2 separate regions of the Homo sapiens genome follow, and region 1 is linked to region 2. The links are contacts of gene promoters, found by promoter capture Hi-C in human tissues and cell types (Jung and others, 2019). All regions are on one chromosome and are shown on one strand. Each heading gives the region's core, a stretch centred on a gene start or on the middle of the fragment in contact. The rest is flanking DNA. Distances are from core to core; before and after follow the strand shown. Region 1 overlaps LOC107984113 (a long non-coding RNA gene). Region 2 holds the start of WDR17 (WD repeat domain 17).

Region 1 (7,599 bases), core at 2,257-4,756, 140 kb after region 2:
AAGTGATTCTCCTGCCTCAGCCTCCCAAGTAGCTGGAATTACAGGCGTGGGTCACCATGACTGACTAATTTTTGTATTTTTAGTAGAGACGGGGTTTTGCCATTTTGGCCAGGCTGGTCTCGAACCCCTGACCTCAGGTGATCCGTGTGCCTCGGCCTCCCAAAGTACTGGGATTACAGGCTTGAGCCATCCCACTTGGCCTCAGGCTTCTCTTGATTCGTTCTCAGGCAGAAGCACTCAGCCTTGATTTCCCTCATATATTTCATATACACCTCACCTATCCTTTCCCATATTCCTTACTTATCTCTCTGACTAGTGGCCTGTCTGCTGTGTTCCTTTCGCAGTCTTTAGCAAGGGCCACAGCACCTTTGGGGGTTACAATGTGTGGTCGGAATGGCAGGAGCATCAAAGCATTCTCTCACTGCCACTTTGGTCTGTTCCTAGAAAATGGTGTCCGGTGTAATTCTTTTTGTCTTTAATTATACTGCCTGCTGTTTCTGTAAGGTGATTTGAGTAATATTTCATTTGGCGAACGTCAGCAATAAAGACAGGTCACTGCTAACCTTTAGATTTAAGCATGTGTTAAAATGAGAGCTCTAATTGTTGCATAAGATTCCCACACGCTACTAATATGGTCGTGTCAGAAACAGGAAGCAGGAAGTAGAAAGTAGAGAGCTACCAAATGCATCTTTGCTTATTTGAGTGCAACTATTAATAATGATTATTTATTTGAAAGGAAATACCTAGGACAAATACTCGAATAGGACTATTCTAGGCAAACCTAGATGATCCCAGGCAAATCAGGAATGATGACCATTTTTACTCTTCATGCTTGTTGTCTTATGATATCAAGATGGCTGAGGCAATGCCAGCCATGAGGACTTGATTCAAAAGCAGAAAGATGAGATTGGGCATGATGGCTCACAGCTGTAATCCCAGCACTTTGGGAGGCTGAGGCAGGAGGATCTCTTGAGCTCAGGAGTTGGATACCAGCCTGAGCAACATGATGAGACCCTGTGTCTACAAAAAATACAAAAATTAGCTGGGCATGGTGGTGCATGCCTGTGGTCTCAGCTACTTGGGAGGCTGAGGTGGGAGGATGACTTGAGCATGGGAGGCAGAGGCTGCAGTGAGCCAAGCTCACGCCACTGCACTCCAGCCTGGGCAAGAGAGCCCGATCTTGTCTTAAAAACAAACAAACAACAACAAAAAAACACAAAGCAACAAAAAAAACCCCAAAACTGCAGGAAGGTGAGCATGGAGTATTGGAGGCTTGGAACCTTCCCCTCCATCACCGACTTCTGCTCACACTTCATCTGCTGATGAGGCAGGTATATGCTTGCCTCTCACTATTCAATGTGTGTTACTTTCCCAGGTATCTCGTAGCCAGAACTTGAACTCTAAATTCAATGTGCTCATACACATTCCCATGGCTCTCTACCTTTGCAGTAAAATATTCTTCTAAAGAAAAAACACTCTCAAGTTGTTAATCTTTTCACTTGTATGTTGTGTATATATATATATATATATATATATATATATAAATCATGTTATGAAATGTCAGGGACTATAAAGATTGTCTTTGACAAAGTTTGTAATAACTGTTTAACCTATACCTTAGCAAAGATTCAGCATTTATATTTTCTAGAAAAAGATTTATAAATCAATTTTTATATGAATAATATAGTATCTACATATGAAGTCATGTTATTATGATATCCTAGACAAATAACAAGCGTGGATTATATTTTAGTTACCAGTACAGATAAAAATGAGCTACAAGATGTACTGATTAAATTATAGGGCAATTGTAGTGGGCAATGATGTGTTTCTGTTTATAACTGCTAATACAGTATCTCTTTTCATCAGTTAATGAAATGAAGAAAAGATAGGAAAAGAAAAGTTGAAAGCTTTTTCATATTCAATTAAATTTTATGTTAGGTAGATTTAAAATTACCAGTAGCTAGAGATTTTTGCTTTAGAGTTTGTCAGAGTTTTATAATGTAAGTGTTACTGTAAGCCCCAAATAAACTCATCTTTTTCCAGACTTTGACTTCATTCCACTAGAAGGGAAATCAAATGAGCTAGTTTCATCTATGTAGAGATGTTCAAATTGGGCTTCTTGAATTGCTTTCTTCCTTTTATTTCATTATACCACCTTGGAAAAGTTTTCATTTCTCCAATATCAGATTTCTTCTTTTTGGTGTGAGTTTCAGAGCAGAGGTAAGTCTGGAAGCCTTTGGGAACCTTTCCAGTTTGGCTTCTATCTACATACAAGAATAAGGTAATTTGTACTTCCTGACTAATACCTTAGGATCTTTGAGGGCTCTGAGATAATTATGGAGCTGGACTAATATCAGGCTGAAGAGTCCAAGGGAACTTTTAGCATAAAGATGTGGAGGAGGTAAAAATCTATTAATGTGGACTGATTGCTGACATCAGGATACTCAAGAAGACCATTGTGGGACTTATAGGACATTTGGGTATCATTATGTGTTAACAGAAATTCCCTAAACACTGCTTTAGCTTGGAGAGGAAGCTAACATGAATTGAGGGTCTAACATGTGTCAGGTATTTCACATTACCTTTTCTCTTACAATCTTCACATTAACCCTTCACATTAATCCTGATGTATTAGAAGCTCCATTTTACATAAGCATATTTTACCCCACATTATGAATCATGTAAGTATTAGGTAGGCAAGCAGGATTTAAGCTCATCTCTCTTGGTCTTCAAGGCTTGTGTTCAGTTACCACACAAACTGGGTCTTCTATTACTCCCTGAGAAGCAGATTACCCTCCCATTCTAGTTCTAGTGACCTGGATTATTGCCCAAGAGAAATGAAGTACTGAAGAAGGACAGCCATCCTATATAGACTTCCTGTACCAGCTGTATAAGGCTAATATAATTTGTGTTGCCATTTTTGTTAGCTGTTTTTGGAAATATGGTACACTCCAATAAGTAAATGTAAAATTCCACTCCAAAAACAAAGGCAAGAAAGCTAGTGCAGCAAACAAGGTGATGGCTCATGGTCAGGATTTGAATACTTTCTGTGGTGTAAAATACATCTCACTCTATTCTTGCATACAAAACTGGATTTTCAAAATGCATTAAATTTACTGAATAAACAAAATGAAGGCATAATTCTATTTTTTCCTAGGAATTATTTGATGCCTTTGCTATTTCATCTTATTTAGCAGGTTATGATTATGTAATCTTATTTATATTTCATTTTTTTTCTTTGGGAATGATGGTCCATGATTTTTTTTTGGCAGGATCATGCGTGGATTTACTTAAAGACTCTGATTAAAATACTGAAATTCTCTATCCATATATGAACAAAATTATGTTTCCACTGTCTTTTTCAGTGCTCTAATGAATTGGAAAAAGTGCATACAGAGTGTATAAGAAGCAAAGCCAAATTTGACATTTAAGTGAATTTGAGATTAAGTGATTGAGATGGAATATTATTTTTTGAGATTAGATAATTGAAGATTGGAGATGATTTTTTTTAAATAGATCACACTGAATATTAAAAAGGAAGATTCTGAATCTTTTGTTATTGAAAGTTATTAATAATTAAGTTGACACTATAAAGATTTCAGTGTTAAAATTAAGTTGACATTATAAAGATTTCAGTGTGAAATTCCAAGTAATGTGAAATATCACATTAAACATATAAACAGATTGGTTAAAGATAATCCTAATTTTCTTCATGATGGAAATTATTTTCTTATTTATAAATATACTACTACTATTGGAGTTATGTTTCCTCATCTATTGTAGAAGCATATGCTTTGACAATGTTCTGATGCAAGAACATATTTATAATTGATCACACATGTCAATATAATTCAATAAAGAGCAATAATATTTCAGAGACTTTTAGAGTATATTCAAAGCATTTTTTTTTTTTTTGAGACAGATTCTCGCTCTGTTGCCCAGGCTGGAGTGCAGTGGCACAAGTGAGCCACCACCGCCTCCCGGGTTCAAGTGATTCTCCTGCCTCAGCCGCCTGAGTAGCTAGGATTACAGGCACGCACCACCGCACCTGGCTAGTTTTTTGCATTTTTAGTAAAGACGGGGTTTCATCATGTTGCCCAGGCTAGTCTCGAACTCCTGAGCTCAGGCAATCCACCTGCCTCGGCCTCCCAAAGTGCTAGTATTACAGGCATAAGCCACCACGCCCAGCCGTATAATTCTTATGAACAGTAGTTTAAGTATTGTTTCTGTGAACATAGTTTGAACTCAGTAAGTGACTAAATAACCAAATTATATCATCATCTAGATTAACACTACCAGTGATATTAGTTACTAACATTCTTTGAGTGCTTGCTGTATGCATGGAACAGTTCTCAGTTCTTTATTTTTTTGTGTCATTTTATAAGACCATTTTAAAAAGTAATTAACCCTTTTATACTGGTAAGAGAATTAAGCACAAGAGAGGATAAGTGACTTGTTTGGGCTAACACAACTGGTAGCAGAGGTGGGATCAATTAAACATTATGTCCTAAATTCCTGCCAGACATGTAGGATCCCAGTGGCAATAATAATATCAGTAGTAATTAATACTGATTCTATTGTATGTTGCCTTCCTGGAAAGGACAATTTCCCCTTCTGTTCACAAGCATAGAAACACACATACAGACATAAACATACTCACATGCACAATTGATGGCGTAAGCCAAGCTCCATCACCTTTAGAGGTTACTTTCCTTTTATGACCAAAGATGGCCAGACATGAGAAGATAGAAGGAAGAGTCCACTAGAGTAAGATTCTCTTTGCTTCACAACGTCCTTGATGGAAGTCTAGACAGGAGATAATGATTTGAACCATCTTTCACATAGATGGTGCTTTTTAATCTGAAACACATGAGGAAATTTGGGGGGCTACATAGCTATCCATTACAGGGGAGTCCTGAGGCAGCAGTAAGATTTCAGACTGAATTGGATCCCTACTTGGTTATAGTTAGAGCTCCTTGTCCATAACTTGGTCAATAACTGTACCCAGCTTCATCACAGCTTGGGAAATGTGACCATTTAGGAGTGTGTCCAGTTGTAAATGGGAATTCTGTTAATGTGAGAGAGAAGGAGAGAATGGATGTTTGAAAGGAAATTAGCAGTCATGGGCTCACCTATTGACTACTTCTGTTTATTAAAGATGAAAGCTTTGGCCTAATTTTTCTTTATTCACCCTTGCATACTGGTAGTTACAAGCCTGCTGGAAAGTCATTGGCAAACTTCACTGATGGTTTTAATTAAGTAAGGGTAAGTTTTGTTGGTCCAAAAATAAAAAGACCCTCTATTTTTAAGTTAGAAATGTTTATGTAAAAGTGTCAAAAGCTCTTTAAGCTTCTTCTGGCCCATTAATCTTTTTTGGCCGGGGATCTTGCTGGATTAAAAAGGTGAGATCCTGGATTTAAGCAGGTTATGGTGGAGTGAGACCCACAAGTCACCTTTTATGATACACAGAATTTTTAGAAGTACCTCAAAAAAACTCATTATATTTTACTAGACTGCCAGGGACCTCATTTGTGCCAGAAAAGTCATGAGAAGGGGAAAAAAAAGAAAAATCATGAGAAGGGTTGAGTTCTTTTTATAAGTGATGGGCAGCAGTCCTTAATGAGAAGATATTTTAATTAGCTATACAGTTAAATTAAGTGTGCTGAAAGGATACCCTATCTTATCGTAATGATAAAAGGCAATTTTCCCACATTCCCTAGTTTTATATCAATTTATTAGTGAGTTCAGTTTTGTTTCAAAATATAAGACTATAAAACAAGTATATAAAAATCTTTCTCCATATTATTTAAATATATTTTATAAGATAATAAGACAAAAACCAGTAGCTCATAAAAAGTAAAGGATATAAGCAGACAAATCATAAAAGAATGCTGTATAGATGTGATGATAATTCCTTCTTATTAATAACTAGAGACATAAGATAAAACATGTGATATGCTGTTGTTTCACAAATTGTTAAAAGAAATTTAAATATACATTTCTGCATTTCAGACACCCTACTGGAAACACATGTTTTTGACAAAAAGAATTAAGAAACATGATATGCAGTTTTCTTAGGAAACTCCAGCAAACTAAATTAACAGCTTTTCAGCCAAAGATCTTAGACTAAGGAAATGCTATCTTTAGTTCCAAGCATTCTATGGTCTTGCTAAACTGTCTTCCACAGGAAAATGGGAAACAATAATTTAAGATATTTTCCAGAATTCATTTGTAGCTTTTTTTTTTTGTTGTTAAGGACAGGAACTGTATCTGCACCTTCTTGATGAATACTAATTTTTCTTAAAACCTATTGCGATGTTATTTTGTGTGCCTCATTTCTTTTCCCTACTTAAAGATTTTTCTTTTCCAATTCTATTTTTTCTCCTAAAGCCTCTTCCACATGTAACTCAACAGCTGCTGCCCGCTTTATCAGCTCCATTACCTAAGCAAAACTTTACATATCCTTAAAATCTGACAAATTCCTAGCATATATTTTTGTAGTTTCTCCAATGTTTTTTAAAAACATTCATAGCTTGCACATATGGTTATCATCAAGAGTGTCTGAAATATGTCTTCATTATAAAGTTTCTTTTTTTTTCATTTTTCTGTCCATGTTCAATCTCAGGTTTTTAAGTTATGCGTGTAAAATATGCTCTCTATAGAAATTTTCATTGTGGGAATCAAGATTTATATAATATGTTAGGAAAAGAATTATGGTAATTTACTCTTTTATCTTGATGGGATTTATCACTAAAGCAGCTATTTCAGTTACTATTTAAAATGAGATAGACTTTTTAAAAACTGTTTTAAATTTTACTAAATAGGGAACCGGGAAAGAAGGATTCAGTTATTTAAAAATTATTATAATAGTATATAATCTCTTACAAATTACACATTGACTTATAAGGCTACTTAACATTGTTGTCTCTCTAGTGTTTTCTTTAGAAAGCTTTTTTTCTCCTTAAGTTGAGATTTCTTAAGCCATTTGGTATTATTTTTCCATTGTCTTTTTATGTGTTTTTTGCACCGACTCATTCCTCCCACATACCAGATCTCACGCATTTTAACATGTCCATCCTGGATTATTTTGACAACCCCCTCCCCATTTGGTGAATGTTGTATCAAGGAGGATGAATGAAGAGTAATCATCTGTTAGGTGGATTTTTAATAGCCGCCCACACTACTATGGTAACGTACATGGACAGATGTATAATCCAGTCAGCCTGTTTCTGCCTTCTTTGTTCTTGTTAGGTCATATGTTACCTTTTTTTGATAGGAATTCTTTTGCTATCTCAAGCCCTTCGTTTCATTGTTTTGCTTATTTGTTGCTAATATTCCTTTTCTTGCAACATTAAATCAGCAGCAGCATCTGTAGCAGGGTCCTTCAATGCAGGCAAGGGGCAGTGCTTGGGGAAGAAGATGGCTCTTATAAGGAATGTTAAAATGGGGAGAGCATCTGAAATTTCAGGATGCTTAAAGATTAAAAAAAAACAAAACAAAACTGTGATTGTGTGGAGGGAGGAGGGTAAGAAGCTGCCTTGGGACCCATTCGCTTGCTTTACCAAGGTGATGCCTTCTTGCTACCCCCACCCGCTG
Region 2 (7,665 bases), core at 3,788-6,287:
AGAAAATCAAATGGATGCTTAGAAGCTTGAATATTAAAAAACAAAAACAAAAACAAAAACAGGGCCAGTCACAGAGGCTCATGCATCCCAGGACTTTGGCAGGCCAAGTTGGGTGGATCGCTTGAGCCCAGGAGTTCCAGATCAGCCTGGGCAACATAGTGAGCTGTCTTCTCTACGAAAAGTAAAAAAAAAAAAAATTAGCCAAGAGTGGTGGTGCGTGCCTGTAGTCCCAGCTGCTCAGAAGGCTGCTGTGGGGGGATTGATTGAGCCTGGGAGTTCAAGGCTGCAGTGAGCCATGATCACACCACTGCACTCCAGCAGGAGACCCTGTCTCAGAAGAAAAAAAGAAAAGAAAAAAGAAGTGGAAAAAAAGGGAAAAAAGGATCTACATAAACTAACTAAACTCGAAACTTTCTTCAATATATGCATTCAATATATTGACAGAGGCCTGAAATAAGTCTGATTTTAATTTGCTAAGTAAAGGGCTGTATTACCTAAGGTAGGGCCCAGGCACAGATCTGATAGGTTGGTAATCTACATATTAGTCTGCCTAAGTCAAATATTACGCTCTGAGCCAACATAAAATTCCCCCTAAACATGAGCTAATGAATTAATTTTGAAGGTGAGACATTATGCCCAAAAAGCTACTATTGATATATAAATGTTAACGAAACGTATCCACTATTATATTTTCAGGAATAAATTCATTTATTTAGTAGTTCATGGTACTCCCAAGTAAAGCTTCAGAAGTAGAACATAAGCCAGCTTTTCCCTTATTAATTTTGAGAACATAATTTTTATGTGTTTAGTGTCCTCATTAACAGAATAACGGTGTTAGAGTAACTGGTCTTAAGGATCCTTCTATCATAAATTCCAAAATGACCCCTTCAAACCTGTTTACCTTAAAAATAAAATGTTGCATAACTCTTTTCATTAAAAGTCATCCATAATGTTTTATCTTAAAGAATCAAACTTAATTAAATGTTAGCTATTTCTTATTAACCAACTATTCATTTTTTTGAGACTCCATGTGGAGCTGTTTGTATTGTAATGAAGGGTTTTTTTAATAGCATGTTAAACACGAGTGCTTTGTGTAATAAAAATTATTTTCTACTTTCCGATTTGAAAGTAAGTTTTCTGTGTGCGTGATATGAAATTGAACTTACTACACATCATTGTAAATGAGTCTGCCTGGGACACTGGTACATGCTTACAACTAAAAAAAATGGGAAGAATCTGGAAGAAGAAAACAATAAACCTAAGCATAAGAAAAATTGTTTAAGGACCTCAATCTTGAGTTCTCCATCTCAGAACATTTGAATGTACAAAACAAGTATTGACTGTTATAACATCTTCACTGACACATGGAAATTTATTTCTTACACTTTTGCTACAATTTATCCGAACATGACAATTATCAATCATCCTTATCATAGCAAATAACATTGTTAAATTACCTCCTGTATTATCTTAATTATAGATTTATATTACTGTCTATTTCTACAGTACATTTTTTAAATTAGAATGTAGAATTACAGAATTTTATAAGACAGCTTACTGAACAATACTTTGTAAGTACATTTAACATAATAAAAAGTAAGACTTTTATCAATATATATATATAAATTATTTTCCTCAAGTAGCTGATAATGTGACATCTGGAAGGCAGGTGCCAGCTGTGGCTCCAATATCAAGTTCTTTTTTTTTCTTACAAAATCTAGCCTATTTGAAATGTTTGACTAGTCACTGAAATTATACCTGTCTAGTCACTGAAATCAGATGAAAACAACCTGAACTCTGCCTTCTAATGTGACAGCCCATGCTTTAAGCATGGAAACTTTTCAAATCTTTCTAATTAATCGTGATGGGAATTTTTCTTTTACTATACAAAGCTGATCATTTTATATTATTTCTACCAATTTTTATTACCAAAGTTGCAAGTCCTTCGTGAACATTTTAAGTAAACTCAAATAAGAAAAATGTTTTTCTCTAGGTTTTGTTTCCTTATAGAGTAGATTCTTTGGGAGAATTTCTAAAATTCTCTTCAGGTATCCGTATCTAATTTCTTGCTCACAAATTTCAAGGAATAGTTTTATCAACAATGAAAGAATAATCACGATACTATTTTAACAGGATAAAGCACAGTCTTGGGTATCAAAAAGTACCAACCAAATCTTAAGTTTCATATGTTTCTGATACAAAAGAAAAGGAGCATGAATTAATAAAAAATCCCTTCCAATATCCTCCTTTTTTTCTTTTTCTTTTCTTTAATTTTTTTGACGTTGTCTTGCTCTGTCGCCCAGGCTGGCATGCAGTGGCGCAATCTTGGCTCACTGCAACCTCCGGGCCTCCTGGGTTCAAGAGATTCTCATGCCTCAGCCTCCCAAGTAGCTGGGATTACAGACGTGCACCACCACGCCCAGCTAATTTTTGTATTATTAGTACACATGGGGTTTCACCATGTTGGCCAGACTGGTCTCAAACTCCTCACCTCAGGTGATCCGCCTGCCTCAGCCTCCCAAAGTGCCGGGATTACAGGTATGAGCCACCGCACGCAGCCTATCCTCATATGATTTCTATAAATTAATATAATTTCGATGAAATCTCTGTTCCTGAAGACGTACTGGAAGATACATGACTTCACTTTAATATTTCCATCTGTTCAATGGAAGAGGTATACAAAATGTAAAATGAGATAATTCAGCAGTGGTCAAAAGTAGCAATGATGCTTCCATATACATAATTATCATGAATAGCTGGGTAAACTCTTAAGTATTCAGTATTACAATTCAGTAATCTGATAAAGCGTTACCTTTCTTGCATATGTTAGATTTCAAAGAAATTCTGGAATATAGGATGAAAATGTGAATCCTTCAAAACTGTCAGAATTACATTTTAGTCGTCATTAAAGTATTTAGGCAACAAAATCAGGTACTCTGGAGAATTTACACATTTCATTAATAGTGACAACCTAATCATTCATGTTGGACTTCTAGTATCCATCAGGGTAAAACCATAAAACAAACAAACAGAAACCTGTTCTTAAACTTCTCCAAGTAATTAAAAAACTGCCACTGGCCCTGTCCCTCCTTTCCCAGACTAAAGGATACAAGATAGAGTCTGTAGAAAACAGCAACAACAAAAGCAATCTAGCCCTAGTCTCCCCTCTACTGGGAGCATTGTTTTTCTGGCCTAAATTAATTTATGGCTTTCTAATCTATGGAATTATTTATGTGACTAATGGGTAACTTAAAAATATTTAGAACACCACTATTTATCATTAGAAATAAGAAGAATAAAGAATGTTAAAACTTTCAAGTAAGCATATTTAACGTCTTCTTCAGATGTCCACAGTTTTTTAAGCAGTTCTATTAATATCAACACAAGAGAAAGTCAGAACAATGTAAACAATAACATTCAACTAGTTATTTTTACATAATTACGTTTGCAGAACTCAAGAGCTTTACTTTCCGTATATGCCCTTTGAAATAAGTCATTGCTTTAAAACTTCCCAGGAACTCTAAAGCTACCATTTGTAACATTAATCTCCAAACAATCCAGTAAAGGATGTTTCCCAAAATATTAACGAATTGACAACTTTTCAAAAGCACTTAATAACTATATTTAATTTTAGATGATAGGAGGGGAAAGGTTCTCAGACCACCTATCTCAGACGTCTGCCTTCAAAACAGTTAGATATAACTATATCCATTTTCTTGAACACTTAGGCCAGTGAGGCAGAATCTCAAAAGGATGTAAGAGTGCTTTCTCCACAGAGTTTGTTTCACCACCCGCCCAGCATCAGCTCCTGGCAAGCAGGGTAATGATAAGGCATAAATCTACAAATAAATTAATGCTTAAACTCTTGTGGAGTTCAAATTTATAAATTCTCATAAATTCATTGTCATTTATTTTCTAATTTTTACAACGCAGAAATGTTATTAGAGTGCTAAGAACGGCAACTATAATCTCACATTGTTGGGCTTTGGCCGTTTCGTATCCTTTTACAACGAACTTGTGTTTTTTTGATAGTTTTCTCTAAAGGGTATTTATGAAAGATTCAGAAATGTAGTATCTCTCTTCAAACCCTTGTTAAATATATATAGTATATATGTATATATTAATATGCAAAATAATTTATTTTTGATGCATGGTCGGACTTTTCATTACTTTTCATTCGAATCAATTGCTTTTAATTAATATATTTAAAAAGTCTCCTTAAATTGTTTGTTCCTTTCAATCTTTGCAAGCAAAACAAGTCTGATTTTGGAGAGGGGAGGACAGCAAAGATTCTATTTTACGATCTACTTAATAAATAGTATACCTGCCTTATATCCAATACCGTCTTTTTTCTGGAACGCATTTCCTTTTTACTCAAACCTTTCTTAGTACAACCCTACTAATAAGTCCATCTTCAAAGGGGTAAATGATCTATACAGAAGTGTCTGGCCGGCGGAGGGATGAGAACAGCAACCTAGGCTCTAGACATATACTTAATAGCCATAAAAATAAAACAATGTCCCTCGAAATGTCCACAGTTTACACTGCAATGGTAGTTTAGATACATAAATATTCGCTGCTTGCTGTGCCTTGTAAGAATCAGGTGTGTGGCTCTAAAACTCAGTTGATTATCTCATCAGGCACCATGGTGTGCAAAGCCCTGCAGGACGTACATTACCCTGGTCCGCGATCACAGGGAGGTCAGAGCCCCTCTCGCATGACGCCGCGACAGTTCCAGCATCACCCACATCAATCCTGAGCTTGCCTTGGTATCTCTGCGGCCCCACCGGCTTCTTACCTGGAGGAGGAGGCGGCTGCAGCGGCGGACAGCGGAAGGTGCTGAAGCCGGCGGGCGCAGCTGCGAGGCGAGCACCACCAACGCGCGGACCCTCCCCGCCCTCCCCGCCTGCTCGCTCAGGGCGCCCGGGGGCGGGGCGGCCGGGCCCGCGGGCTCCGAGGGGCGGGAAGCGTGCTCCGCAAGCCCCAGCGCGGAGCCACGATGGAAGGCGCCGCGAGCCCGATCTCCAGGGTCTGCCCCAGAGGCCCACGTGACAGCTACACAGGTCGCTGATTGGAGCGCCCGAGAGGGGGAGGCGGAAGTGGCTCGTGACCCTTGGAGACTAGGCTGAGGGAGAAGTGGTTACCTGGCAACAGAGAAAGTGTGTTGAAGGCGCAGCTCCTCCGTACTGGAGCGAGGCTTTGGGCAGAGGGTTTGCACTGAGGCTGAAAGTGGAGGAAAACGGTGAACCATCAGCGTTCTCACCACCTAACACATTTTATAGCGAGTCTGCACTTTCTAGGAAAATGAGTCAAATATACAGTAAGTCAGTCATCCTGTCTCTTTCTTGAGGGACCTGGAGGAGGGACTTGAACCAGTGCCTGGAATGTGAGTGCAGAATGCTGTCTCGCCTGCACTTCATTATTGTCTGATTGGGCCCAAGAAGGTCTGTGGGAGAGCTCAATGGATAAGATTATTTGTTTATATTAATCGAGTTGTATGTGGTTAATGTATCTGCCTTCACAAAACTGACATTTTCCCTGTGGGATCTGGTTGAATGGAAGTGCTGGATGTTGTCATTCCTACTGGATTCTTCACATCTCTGAAATATCTTCACTACCTGTGGCCTTTATCCAACACACTAGAGAGAATAAGCCTCGACGTACTCGAAACAAAGTGTATTTAATGACATCTATCGAGAATTAATTATACTCCACTCTAAATAGTTAATAAATGAATGGTCGACCTCAACCAGAGAAAGTCCCTGGGCCTAATTCTTACCTTCCTATGCAGTAGATTTTAATGCTCCTTTTTTCCAAAATATTCTCTGCAGAGACGAGTACCTACCACAGCACTCAATATTCTATATTGTAAATTAAAATTAACTTAAATGTTGGATTTCCATATAAAGAATAAACTTGTTAAAGCTAAAATCAGTTCTTACAACTCCGTCCCCTATATTCTAACAAAGTATCTGATGAATAGCAGGTCTTCAATTAATTCTTGATGGATAGATGGATAAAGAAAGAAAGAAATTAGCACATAATCTACCAGAGAAAGTATAAGGGCAATAACTAAATATAACTCAATGTGTTAAGTACTAAAATAGGGTTACATAAAAGTGCTATGAGATGATTTCAGATGAGGGAGGCAGAACTTTTTCTTCCAAGGTATTCAGAGAAGCTTTCAATATGATTAGTATTTGAGCAGGGACTTATAAATAGGTAGAATTTCACCTGATAAAAAGGGGAAAGTGTATACTATGCAGCAGGAGCAGCATTGCCAAAAGCATAAAGTGGGAAAAAATAAACGATTGATGTAAATAAATTTGATGTTTTTGCCTTCTCCGGAGTTGGGGATGTGAATCCAAAGATAAGAAGGAAGATGGAAATTGGCAAAAGACTGTACTAGAAAAATAAGAAAACTTGATTGGGAAAGATGCAGAATTCTATATATGGGTTAGGCTTTAACCTCTAAACCAAAGGAAGAGATTGAAGTTTATAAAATCAGTGCTTTTTCATCAAGAAAGACACCTTGGAAACATTGGAGATACATGGGATGCAGGAAGATGAAGAACATGGTCTGTTAGGAGAAAAATTCAGTAGTTCATGGGAAAAGATGCTGATGACCTGAGTTAAGACAATGAAAATAAGAATAGCGAAGAGGGAAAATCACAAGAAACATTTCTGTGAAAACAGACTATAGTTTTCATTTATGACTGATATTTGCTAGGTATAGTGCTGAATAGTCAATGGTGTACATGAAGAGAAAATGCTGAAGATACAACGTCTAGCTTAGTCCATCGGTTGGACGGAAAAAATCTTTTATGTTTATTTTGCTCATAATGGCTCCAGCTCTCCAGTTAAGAAACAAAAAACCGGCCGGGCGCGGTGTTTCACTCCCGTAATCCCAGCACTTTGGAAGGCCGAGGTGGGCGGATCACCTGAAGTCAGGAGTTTGACGGCAGCGTGGTGGTGAAACCCCGTTCCTACTAAAATACAAGATGAGCTGGGCGTGGTGGCGGGCACCTGTACTTCCAGGTCCTCGGCAGGCTGAGGCAGGAGAATGGCGTGAACCCAGAAGGCGGAGATTGCGCCACTGCACTTTAGCCTGGGTGACAAGAGTGAGACTCCGTCTCAAAAAAAAAAAAGAAAAAAAAGAAAAAGGAAAAAGAAAGAAACATAAAATTGAATGAGACAACTGAAATTATCTAGTTGTGCACTCATAATTTAAAGATGAAGGTGTTTAAATCTCCAGTCATATTAGCAGCAGATTTTGATAGAGTGATCCCGGTCTCCCAGTTCAGGACTCTTATTCCTTTACCAGAATTTAGTTCATTCCTTTTGAACAGATTTAAATAATCACAACTATAGTTAGATTAGATCTAGAGGAACAATATACCTAATTTATAAAACAAAGATCTCTTTACTCTGATTTTTTATTCTTTTATTCAACCAGTATTTAATGTCATATACTCACCTCACAAAGAAAAAATTGTCAGTCACTTAGGCTGACTGACATTTTCAGGGCAATCATTAGTTCTTAGCACTGAGTACCCGGAGTTCTTCATGATTAAATTTAAAAGCAGAGCGATTAGGGAAGCCAAATGACTCCAGTCAAATTCATCTTCAAGGATAGATAGACATGTTCTATGAGTACAATGGCTT

What was found. The method cuts DNA at HindIII sites, captures the fragments that hold promoters and counts their contacts. A contact is called where the count stands out against the background at its distance.
Region 1: a contact is called between a fragment that was not itself captured here and the fragment with the promoter of WDR17 in region 2, in 2 of the 25 tissues and cell types used here (dorsolateral prefrontal cortex and hippocampus).

Annotation. Positions count from the first base shown.
Region 1 is chr4:175,917,160-175,924,758 of GRCh38, reverse strand. All of the region lies in intron 3 of LOC107984113 (a long non-coding RNA gene), which reads left to right. It also overlaps a transcript of GPM6A not described here. Among named protein-coding and RNA genes, the nearest start is that of GPM6A, 110 kb to the right of the region's middle. The HindIII fragment of the contact is 5,293 bases long and covers 860-6,152 here.
Region 2 is chr4:176,063,213-176,070,877 of GRCh38, reverse strand. WDR17 (WD repeat domain 17) reads right to left here and starts at 5,037. Exons shown (of 29, transcript NM_181265.4): 1 at 4,799-5,037. RefSeq lists a silencer at 4,782-5,161. The HindIII fragment of the contact is 11,750 bases long and covers 384-7,665 here.